Linked DNA regions of Homo sapiens: region 2 is linked to region 1. The links are contacts of gene promoters, found by promoter capture Hi-C in blood cells and fetal thymus (Javierre and others, 2016). All regions are on one chromosome and are shown on one strand. The core of a region is centred on a gene start or on the middle of the fragment in contact, and the rest is flanking DNA. Distances in the headings are between cores, read along the strand shown. Region 1 holds the start of SAMSN1-AS1 (SAMSN1 antisense RNA 1). Region 2 overlaps NRIP1 (nuclear receptor interacting protein 1).

Evidence for each region. The method cuts DNA at HindIII sites, captures the fragments that hold promoters and counts their contacts. A CHiCAGO score of 5 or more calls a contact.
Region 2: a fragment that was not itself captured here is called in contact with the fragment with the promoter of SAMSN1-AS1 in region 1 in 1 of 17 cell types (erythroblasts); the score reaches 5.4 in erythroblasts.

The regions. Positions count from the first base shown.
Region 1 is chr21:14,579,888-14,585,761 of GRCh38, forward strand. SAMSN1-AS1 (SAMSN1 antisense RNA 1) reads left to right here and starts at 2,315. Exons shown (of 5, transcript NR_046512.2): 1 at 2,315-2,404; 2 at 5,475-5,651. It also overlaps a transcript of SAMSN1 not described here. The HindIII fragment of the contact is 2,204 bases long and covers 204-2,407 here.
Region 2 is chr21:15,055,728-15,061,601 of GRCh38, forward strand. The region is part of intron 1 of NRIP1 (nuclear receptor interacting protein 1); the gene reads right to left. Among named protein-coding and RNA genes, the nearest start is that of NRIP1, 6.3 kb to the right of the region's middle. RefSeq lists enhancers at 1,471-1,520, 1,741-1,790, 3,166-3,215. The HindIII fragment of the contact is 994 bases long and covers 2,128-3,121 here.

The DNA of each region.
Region 1 (5,874 bases), core at 1,065-3,564:
AAGTGGAGTATGGTTAAGTTCCATGAAGATGAGGGCAGTGTAGATATCATTTAGCTCTGTATCTCCAGTGCCTGATATTGTGAATAGCAAATAGTAGGTTGGCAGGATGTGTTTCATGGATATGGAATGAAAGAATAATGCCCTCAAATAATGTAGAAGTTCAAAGGAAGGAGGGACTACTTCTGCCTGGTGTTACTCAGAAAAGCTTTCTAGATGATGAAGTATTTGATCTGAGTCTAAGGGATGATGGGATGGGTTCTAACAGAGAGAATTCACATATCAGGCAGAGGCCATCACACTGTCACAAAGATAGAGGGAAGAAAGTGTGAGACAGCCTTTAGGAATAGCAAATCATTCAGTTTGGCAGTTCGGCATAGGAAATCAATAAGGTGGGGGTAGTGCACAGATAAGACTGAAAAATTAGATTGAGTCCAGACTGATGAAATCCAGAAATGCCAAGTTAGGGAGTCCAGATTTTATTCTTGAAGAAAACTCTGACTATTTGTGTTCAGATGCCTATACAACAGCTTAGCCACTTGCCAAGGAGTCATCAGCCTTGATCCTGCTTCTGAAGATATCAGAGGGAGTCATCAGAAGCACGTCCTAATTATATTACCAGCTACTCTCCAAGAAGCTACTCTAAGAGAAAACCTGCAAAGTGCAGCAGTCCCAGAAAAGAAGATGAAGATTAAAGAAGAAGGAGGATATTTAGAAATGATTAATGTTGGTCAGTTTCATCAGTTCGAAGTCTGTTATCAGATACCTGTTATATTTACTATGGCACTTTGAACACAAGTTACTTTAATTCTAGTCTTTGCAGACTTAATGCACAAATCTTAAAAGGCAAAAAAAGTTCCAAGAGAAAATATGCCTTTTAAGAGACCTCTAAATATGTTATAAAATGTAGCTTCTGTCTAAGAAGAGACTGATTCTTTGAGGAAAATGGTAGAGAGTAGGCTCCCTGGATACACAGAATTGTCCCATTCATTCACTGAAAACACACATGACCAGAGGAGCTGTAGGTAAAGTTATAAAACATGCCTTGAGCAATTTACAAGGAAATTGAAAAAAAAGTACCACTCTTAAGTACTAGAAGATTTATAATATTTGACTTTAGCTTCTTGACTATTTCCATTTTTTAGTTAAGAAAGTTAAGATTAAAAGGTTTAAATAACTTATCCAAGCCCAAAAAAAAAGTAGCACAGCCAGAATCCATCCAAATTTGTTTGACTCCAGAGAGCATACTCTTTCTCACGTATCACATAATAGCCTTAGAGTCTGCCCTCGTATATGGAAAACACTCTAATGTAGTAGCTAAAAGCAGGAGCTCTAGCTAAAAGCAAGACCTAGGTTATAGGTCTTGGCTCTACCTCCTGTTAGCTGTCTGACTTTGCACCTGTTACCAACTTTTTGTGCCTCCATTTTCTCAACTGTAAAATGAGGGGAAATAATATTTCTTTTTTTTTTTTTTTTTTTTTTTTTTTTTTTTGAGGACGAGTCTTGCTCAGTCGCCCAGGCTGGAGGGCAGTGGCGCGATCTCGGCTCACTGCAAGCTCCACCTCCTGGGTTCACGCCATTCTTCCGCCTCAGCCTCCCGAGTAGCTGGAACTACAGGTGCCCGCCACCACGCCCGGCTAATTTTTTTGTATTTTTAGTAGAGACGGGGTTTCACCTTGTTAGCCAGGATGGTCTCGATCTCCTGACCTCATGATCCTCCCGCCTCGGCCTCCCAAAAGTGCTGGGATTACAGGCATGAGCCACCGTGCCTGGCCAAAAATAATATTTCTTAAGGTAATATTTCATAATGTAAGTCCTTACCTTATAGAGTTGATGTGAGATTTAAATGAGATAATACATATAAAATGCTTAGGAAAATGGCAGGCCCAAATAAAATGCTCATTAAAATTAGCTATTATTTTTCAGTGAAATTTCATTATAATTGCAATAATTTAGACAGTTCACTTCACATTTTCTTGATCTCAGTCAACACACGAAGTCTTCCTTCAATCAAAAAGAAATCCCTGGAAAAATTTTATGCAGTCATTAATTTGTACACAAAGGAATATATGAAATGTTAATATGGGTAAAAGTCACAAGAGTTTGGTTGCTTTTTGGAAAGACAACTCTTGCTCTGGTAACTTTTCTGAAACTGATAAATTTCACTGATTAGCACTTTTGCTATCTGTTTCTTTCCCGACAGTACAAAACCCCAGATAAGATGACACATTTCCGTAGTCTGCAAACTTACCCATGAATGTAGGAGATCCATATCTGAGCAGGAAGACTTGAGACGTGTGTGGCGAATACAAGAGGAGCAGTGGTCCCAGGGTCCAACTTGTGCTATTTGGAAATCAAGACATGTCCAGAGAGGGTTTTCAGGAAAAGGCTTCCAGTGATGCCACATGTAAGCTTCACCTTCATACCAAGCTAATTTATCTTCCAAGTTGCAGTTATTTAAAGTGCTGGATCTACCCAGTGATGCAGAAAGAGTATCCAATCTAATCTCCATTTCTTCCTTCCTCCTCGTGCTAACACTATTCACTTTCTTTTCTCGGGACTTGGTTAATTTCAAACAAGAAATCAACGTGTCATCTTCATCTTCTGAATGACAAAGAAATAGGTTAAAAACTATGATTATAATTCTTCACATATAGGAATTATTCTTCCATTTATATAAGAGAAATAAATACACTGCAATGGATAAACCAAGAAGTCATTCAATTTTATAAAATTATTTACAGCAGCATTTATTTAAAAAGCAAGTTATTTTGCTATATAAAATTTTTTGTTTTGTAAAAGTCGCATTTTTCTGACATTTTTGAAACCATAACAATTGATTAAATTCTATCTCACTGGAAAGAATGGAGGCCACATACAAATAATATGCTGAAAGATATTTGAGAAAAAAATACAATTAAAAAACCCACCTCTTATGTTTCTATTCTTAAATATTTTTTTAATTTTTAAGGTCATGTGTATAATAAAGAATTATAAGGAAATAAATAAAATTATTTGCCCTACTTAAAAGAATAAAATCTCAGTGGTTTGGACTGAAATCCTACTGACATTCTGAAATTGTCTATTTTAATATCAATCTACCAAGAGATGTATGGATGCAGTGTGTCTCACAGTGAAATGGTTTTCAAAAAACAAGAACGACAAAAATTTAAAAAAGCCATATCTGTAATACCATAAAGTTCATTTGTGAGATCTATATTTACACAATGTGGCAAAGACTCTGATGAAATTTCTAGTAATGTAGAAAACAGTTACAGAAAATAGAAATATATATCACCCAGAGTCAATTGCTCTATGTCATGGAATCCCTTTAAATCCAAACGTTTAATGGGTATTTTTAAAAGAGTTCGATTACTTAAGGCATGCTATTATAAATAAATAAATGAAAATCAAAGTTGCATGCCATGGACATACCAATTTGTTATGCTTACATCAAAATTCAAATACATTGTTTTCTATGGCCAAGGAATGGCGACAGTGGACACTGCTGAGCTTCCTCCATTGCTCTCTCTCACTGTGTCTCGGAGCCCGGTCTTGAAGGCAAGGAGAAACGGGGCGGTGCATAAATACGGGGTAAAATTCAGGAACAGATGGGGATGTCTGTTTTAAAATAACTTGGCAATAAAAAAAAATCCTCAATGTTTAATGATTATCTTAAGACTTTATCAAAATGGGCTTCATTAACGTATGCTTCCTTAGTTCTCCCTCAAAGGAGTTTTAACAGCTTATTGAGTTCTTACTTACGGAGGTTTATTAATGTCGGTTTCACCTCATCCAGATTCTGCACTCTGGCTTTCTTAGTCCAAACCAGTTTCTGTAGTCGCTTTAATGTCCCCATTGATTCCACAGGGTCACTGCCTGATTTTATGGCCTAGCACAAACACAGCTCAAGGTAAAGACAAATTATTCCTCACAAAAGATTAAATATAAAATATGTTGAGATCATAAATGTGGAAAAATTAATAATGTGACCTTAAAACCTGAAGCCTGAGTCAATTTAAGCACTAACTTGAAAGCACACCATACTTTTTGGGTTCAAAATTATAAAATATGTTACAACTGGCCAGGCATACTAAAGCAGAGTGGTTTTACCATTTTTTTTTTTTACTTCAAAATACAGCAAAATGGATTGAATTCAGAAATATCTATAAATGACTCACTCCTGCCCACTGTGAAACAGCGGAAAAAAACAAGATCTTTGCAGTGTAATATAGATGGAACAAGAGGTTCAAAGTTGCTATTTGCTAGTATTGGAATAGACTGATAGTATACAAAGTCTACCTGCTAATATTAGATAAAGCAGAATTTAAATAGTCTTCATTTTCTTTTTGGAAATTTGTGGACAAACAACATTTGTTTCAAGTATGAAAATTTTTCAAATAACATACTTTTAAAAAAATAGCCTCTTGCTTTCTAGAAGATATGCACTAAGTGAAACAAAAGATAGCCACAGCATACCACATCATGTTTTAGAATATGTGTCACTTGTTTATTATGACAAAATATGGACAAAATATAATTAACATTGCATTAATGACTCTTGTTTTCTTTAAAAGATTCAGGAATGTTTCCCACTAGTTTACTGTTGAATTTGTATTTATACAGCTTTTACTTATTATCTTAAGTATAGTTCCTCTTAAGGATTTCAAAATACTTTGGAAATTAACTCTTTGTGTGCTAAGTTTTATAGGAATTGATAAAAATCATTGTGTTCTGTTGAATTCACTAGATGTGATGTAATACATATAGGAATACTTTTTCATCCAGAAAGTTCTAGACTCAGAAATATTTCTCCACCTGCTTTTGTCTCATTCTTTCCATTGAACAGCTGATAAATAGCATCTACAAAGACACTGCAGTTTTCAAGAGGTGAATATTTGCTTCCTCATTAATGTTTGAATGAGACATATTTATAATAATGCTTTCCAATCCTTTTAAGGAGACTATAAGCCCAAATAAATGTTTGGAAGTAAAGGATATCTGACATGCAACATTTCCAATCTTTATACTCAGCTGTTATCTTTGTTCTTTAAGAATGACTTTGCACAACCAGTATAAACTTGTTGATCTGTCTCTGCAAAATAGCACTTACGTAGGAAATGTGACGTTTTTGTCAGAGGAACCCTACCTTTTTGCATTAAATAAGTGGGAAAATATTGAAATCATTTTAATCTTTCAGAAAGGACTGTGATGAGATATGCTTAGAAGCACAAAATCTTCCCTCTCTTTCCAAAGGCCATGCTCTGCTCAACACAATTTCTATTGCTGTTTATTTTTTTGTATTATTTCTCAGTGTTTCTTTTAGTGCTTTCTGAGTTACTTGATTTTATAGACCCTTTACAACTCAGGAAAGGCCATTTTCTACTCTTTAGACCCTTTCAGAAATAATAAGATGACATTGCACAACCATTTTTTCTTTGTTGTGCTTCTATTCTTATGGCAACTTCTTGTTACAGCCAAAGCTTAATTGCTCCACTGAAACACTGGCAACAAAAATCGTCTTCTCTTCTCCCTTTGTGAAAAAGGCTTTCACTTAATGTGGAGAAAGGTATTATATACCAGGGAAATGGAACTTTGTATAAATGATTTTCCCCCAAGAGGAACTAAAGCATTTGGAAGGTATCTGAATTCAGGTAAGTAAGATCTCATGTCCTAGAGGTTTTAAAACAAACTGACCTTTCATTATTTTGTTCACATTCTATTGTAGCCTTTTTAAAGCATGATATTGTTAATTTTTGTATCTTTATTCACTTTGAGTTACTGGACATCAGTCTACTGCATTTTATTTATTTTTAAAAATCCTATGTGCCTAGGATTGTACATGGCTTAATAAATATGTACTGAATGTAAATACAA
Region 2 (5,874 bases), core at 1,375-3,874, 480 kb after region 1:
AAATCAAGATTTGACTGACCATCCTAGGTCTACCCAACTGCTAGCTGAATGACTTTCAAAACGTCTTTAAATTCTTAAGGACTCAATTTCTTCCTCCGTAAAATGCAGATAGTAACTGTTTTGGGCATTTTAACTTAACAGCAATAACAAAAACTACAGGAAGATAAGTAATTATTGACCCCATTGTATCACATGGATCCCCTGGCAATTAAAAAAAAAGATGAATGAGATATTAAGAAATAAAAAGGAAAACAGAGTAAAGACAAAACAGAAATAAAGAAGGAAACCCAAAAGGAAAGAAAATGGCACATAAGCACTAAATGGTAGCATTTTATCATTATTTTATTTATAGTCTACACTAACTGTGTGCTCTTCCATACAAAAGATGCATCTAAAAACTAACTTGTTTGATAAATGGGGGGAGGACAAGGTGCCTCTAAGATAGGTGTGCTTAAATCCAGAGCAGCCGTAGCTTTTATCAAATTCTCTTCCAACCTGAAAAATCTAACGATTCTATGAAATAACTTCAATTTGTGAAAGCCCAAGCAAAAGAAATTCAAAGTTAAAAAAAAAAAAAAAAGAAAATGTGACTTTGACTCAGGTCAGTCAAGTATTACCAGGATAGATAAAAGTAGATTTTTAGCAATACAGTTAACAATGGGTCTTGCCACAATAATAGCAAACATCCAGATATTGGAAAGGAATCAGATGGTAAATTTAAAAAAGACTGTTTTCAATCCTTATATTTGGCTTCACATAGATTCAGTGTATTTTAATTCATTTTTTTTTAAAAAGCATGGATCAGTTAAGGAAATAATATAAGTTCATTCTGATCTTTAGGAAGACATTCTTCCCCCCATATTGTTCACTTTGACAATTTCTCTTTTTTCTTATTTGGCCAAAATATAACGTATTCTCTAAACAAAACACAGATGTTTCCTTTGCAGCTTTTATACAAATCTCTTGCTTTTCCAACATGATTTGGCAACTCAAAATCCAAAGCACCCTAGAAAATATTATGTTTACACGTCTTATTATTCATCTTTGTGTCTCCAATATAGTTTCAATTTGACTATACCTTTCAGTGTATAGGGAACCACTCAGCTTGAATCTTTTAGGTTCAAAAATTCCATAAATTTTAAATGAGGCAAGTAAAAGGAGGTGGAGAAGCTCATAACTCCATTTCTTATGGCTTTAACAATAAAAGAACGTACCTGGTATGTACTTAAAAATGTACTATGTGCCACAAAGCTCCCCCACTCAACAATCTCCCTCCTGACACAGTCTACCCTCAAAATAAAGTCAACTACTCCTCATCTCTCTGCTTCCACTTCCTTCCAATTCACAAATACATTGTTAATTTCCTCTTTGCATTTCAGAGAGCAGTTTATCAGCACAGGATAGTCTTTAACAAAATTGTTGTGAGTGAAGATAGGGTAATTAAAAAAAAAATCATGTTAAGAACTGTTAATAGTCAAGAGTTGTAACTTTTCAACCAGGAAGAGCTATGGTTCTGAATTTGCTACAACTGCTCCTTGAAGTGGACAAACATAACTAGCCTTGGGAACACTCAGTTTAAGACCATGACAAGCTATTTCAATGAATTATATAAAGAAACATAGTTGCTTTCACTGCCTCAAATAACACCGCAGTAATTCTGTGATACACTTCAGAAGAGTTAGCACTGGAGGGAAAAGAGCCTGTGCGGCAGCCCTTGGTGACTACATTTCCCTCCAGCGCAATGCAGGTAGCAGGACATCAGCGCTTTGAGAACTAGCATAAGCTGCTGCAGAATCATCGACTGGCAACAATGTGCCTTCCCAGAGAGCCTGGTCTTGGAGAATCCAGGCTATGAGGCTTGCAAATGCTGCATGAGTTTTATGGCTACCAGGTTGGGAGCAAGGTTTTTTAACGGCTTCCTGAATGTCAGATGGCAACTGGTTTTTTCTTCAAACAATGGCATATTCTTTAAGAAAATCAAATTATCAATGAAATTTGCCATGTGACCACAGGCAAGTTAACTATTCTTGCATTTTTCAGACTAGGTTTCCTTATCTCTAAACTAGAGAAAATGATACCTACATGTCACAGGGGAACTGGAAGGATTAAAAGACAAAATGTGTGTAAAGCTTCCAGCACAATGTCTGGCACAAAACGGTTGCCCCAAAAAGTTCAATACTCTTCCTTTCCCTGCTCCCCCTCCCAACAAAACAGGAAAAGGCAACAGCCAAGTAACTAAACAACTTCTTAATATTCCAAGTTTCTACCCAATCATCTCTTCTTCTTTTAAAACCACAGGCTTGAAATCTTTACTGTTTACTGTCAACAACGGCATATACTGCTGTACAGTCAGAATTTTAGAATTTAGAAATCAAATATAACCCCCTTATTCAACAGATGCTGCCGGGGGAGATAAAAGGGCTTTCCTTTTATCTGTATCATCTTGATTTAGTAGCAGAACCTAAACTCGAAAAATAAACGTGGAATAACAGGAATACTATTTTTTAACATGTTTTTCAAAAATCAAACCTGAGCCTACATAACCCATTGTGCAAACAGTCCCTTTAGGAGAAAAACTGCAACTGTGATTAATTTCTCTCAAGAATATTTATTTCCCATTTGGAGAGTTTCACATGTTTCCAAACATATTTTCTTGATGTCCTCCATGTCATTGTGTATTCTCTCCTTCCCTTAATTTGTTTCTTTTCCAGTGTATAAATCTATTGCTCTATTATAGATTATTATAATATAAACTCATAAATTCAGGAATTTAAAAAAAATCTTTAAAAGCATGCTTCTCAGAAATCATTACACTCTGTTAAACACTTGCTATCTCTCAACTTCTAGATAGATTCCTCAAGAGAGAAGTCCTTTTTTCATTCTGAACTTCTAATTCTCAAATTTTGATTGTGTCCTGTTAGTTACCAAACACACCATTATACTACTACTCTCATTTCAATATTGTACATAAACGATTCCCCATCTTACTAATGAAATGCTTTTTTAAAGCAGTAACATATTTAACATGTGCACATGTTATGAAGAGTATAGGCAAACTCAACTATTAAAAACATGTAACTATAAGGAAAGCCATCTTAGACACTATATGTGACTACAGCTAAGCTTTTCTCTTAAGTATCTAAAGCAAATCACCAGACTTTTACATAGTACCCTCACATAGCTAGATAAGAAAGTAAAAGTAAAATAATGAAAGCAGACTCTAAACAGCAGAAGCTCCAAACTCCTTAGTTTCTCTGTTGTGCTCAATCCTTTAGCAAATTACAGGCCTGAAAACAAGGAGTAGCTCTATCACTTAACAAGTGACTAAGGAATGACTTTGTTAATTAGAAGTCCAAGGGTGAGAGGCTCCTTTCCACCAAAGCTCTGAATAAACATCAACATCAGGTCAACCAGAGTTGTCTTGGTCCCAGGAGTAGCTTAAGCGGATGACTCAAATTCCCAGCAGAATTCTAGTTTAATATTTATTGGAACTCCGAGCTTAGTCACACAGTGACTTGGAATTTAAGACACATGGGGTCTCTTCTTTCCATCCTTAAAGATATTTTTGCTAAGTGACACAAAGTTAAAGAGGCAAGATGGGTTTTAATTTAGAGTTTTTATTCCCTGAGGTGTAAGAAATTAAAATTTTATTTTCTGGGGAGAGTGAACCATACTAGCTCTGAATTTCAAACACAACTATTAACCCTGTCAGATAATTCTATTATCAAGTTTTACAAAACTGTTTACTATTATTATTTTTTTTTGCTACCCCAGCCCTATGTATTGAAAGTGGAAAGAAGGAAGGGAGGGAAGGAGGGAAGGAGAGAGGGAGAATGGATGAATGGATGTATGTCACAATCACCTTTCTAGCCAAAACTGCAACATATGCTGGAGTTCTTGAAATTATTTCAACCAAAAAAAGAATCACAGGACTCATAATTTGTTTAGCAGGTAATTATTTGCCCCATTATCTTCAAGAACAATCTATCTTAAAACTGTGTATAGCTTTTTAAGAAATCTTAATACTAAGAGGATCCTTTTTTTCATAACCCCAAAGAGTGTTTTCTTCCTCTATTTTTGAATTGCCAGCCTTCTCAATTCTTTAAATCTGATTCACATTATACTACTTTTAGAGTTCTAGGCTAAATGTTTATCCATAGCATGATTCAAGGTATTAATTTCAACAAAATACTAATATAATGATAAAATGTATCACATTTATTTTCAACTCTTTCCTATTCTTCTGATTTAAGAACTTAAAGAAAAATATTTTATGTTTCGGGTGCATTTTGATAAGCTAAAATACCACAACTTTTGTAATTCTTCATTTGTAATATTTGCAAGATAGTGTAGGGATCAATTTGAATTTCAAGGTTCATGATATAGAGTATGTACCATAACAGTGAGAAAAGTTAGTATAAATTCCTACTCATCTCAGTTTCTATATTTATTGCAACAAATTAAAACTGCATTTCATAACTCGTAGTAAAACAAAAGGAAAGTTCTGTTTTAAATAAACTCCAACCTTCAGAATCCTATACATTCAGTATCCATCAACCTGAACACTAAATTTCAAGAAAAAACAACAGATGGGCATCCATATAATAGTTTGCAAAGAAACCCTGATAAGACTTCAGGAGTTTCTGTGGTCTCTATTTTCCCCCTACCATGAATCATAGGTAATGTGCTTAAATAAAGCATTATTTCTGCAGTTATTTACATGTTTATCTTTATCAGAGATCCTATAAAAGAATTATCCAGTTCACCACCCAAACTTTAGCACTCAGAACACGGTTTTCCCTGTTGATGAAGACCCTTGTAAAATTCCAGATCTTAAAAGATTAAAGAAAATGTGATCTAATATTAATTCATTTTCCTCCAAAGTATAACTCCTGATTCCATGCTGGTACCCAATTTTGATCCTCTACTTTAAAGATATCTCAGAGACATTCAAAACAAAGTGTGAACATGCACAAAAGGGGAACTTGTCGTTTCTCTCCCTCAAACAACCACTATTTATATAATATTGCTGGCCTCCTAAAAGAGAATAGAATCCATTACCATCAGCAATTCATGTCTCTGCTTCAGCATCAGATGCAAACAGGATACAGAAACTAGATCTCTCTCCTCCATTTACTTTTTGTTCATTCCAACCTCTCGACATAATCTTCAGTTCCATTCCAATGGCCTGTTTCACCATCTGACACTCCTGGTTTTTACCTTCTCAAGTCTTAGTGGCCATAGTGGTGTTACATTTCTCTAATTGTTGTGTTATCTAAATACTACAGGATGAGCCTGCTCATTCCCCCTCCCCCAAAAGTCCCTGAAAAAACTACAACTTAAGGAAATGCAACTTGAACCTTTTTAGTTCACAGATTCAAACTCATATCCTGCAAGACCCTAGCATATCTTGTTGAAAATTTTCTTTGACTTTTCAACAGTAGTCAAGATTATTTTAATGAAAATATTTCTCCAGTTGGAAGACATGGGTATACAGGACTTTGCTAGAACGGCAAATGCTTTTTCCCAGTCTTCATCCGTGTAACAGTAAATCGTTATTAAACAAACACACAGAACAAAACCCACTCTGATTGTGTATCAATCACCTGAAGGGGCAGAAGGGAAAAGTACAAGAGTGAAGAAACTTCTCCCCACCCACAGCCAAGAAGGAACGCTGCAACTAAGGCAGTTTTTCATGGAAGAAAATATCCAAAGATCTAGACAGTGTTTATTTTAGAAAAGGGGAAGAGAGCAAGGGAGGGAGGGAAATGGTAGGGAAGGGACTACCATTTCCTCTTACTAACCTACATTAAAAACTAATTGTATCAAGCAATCTCAAATGCGAAAAGCAAAACTGACCCTAGCACAATTTAA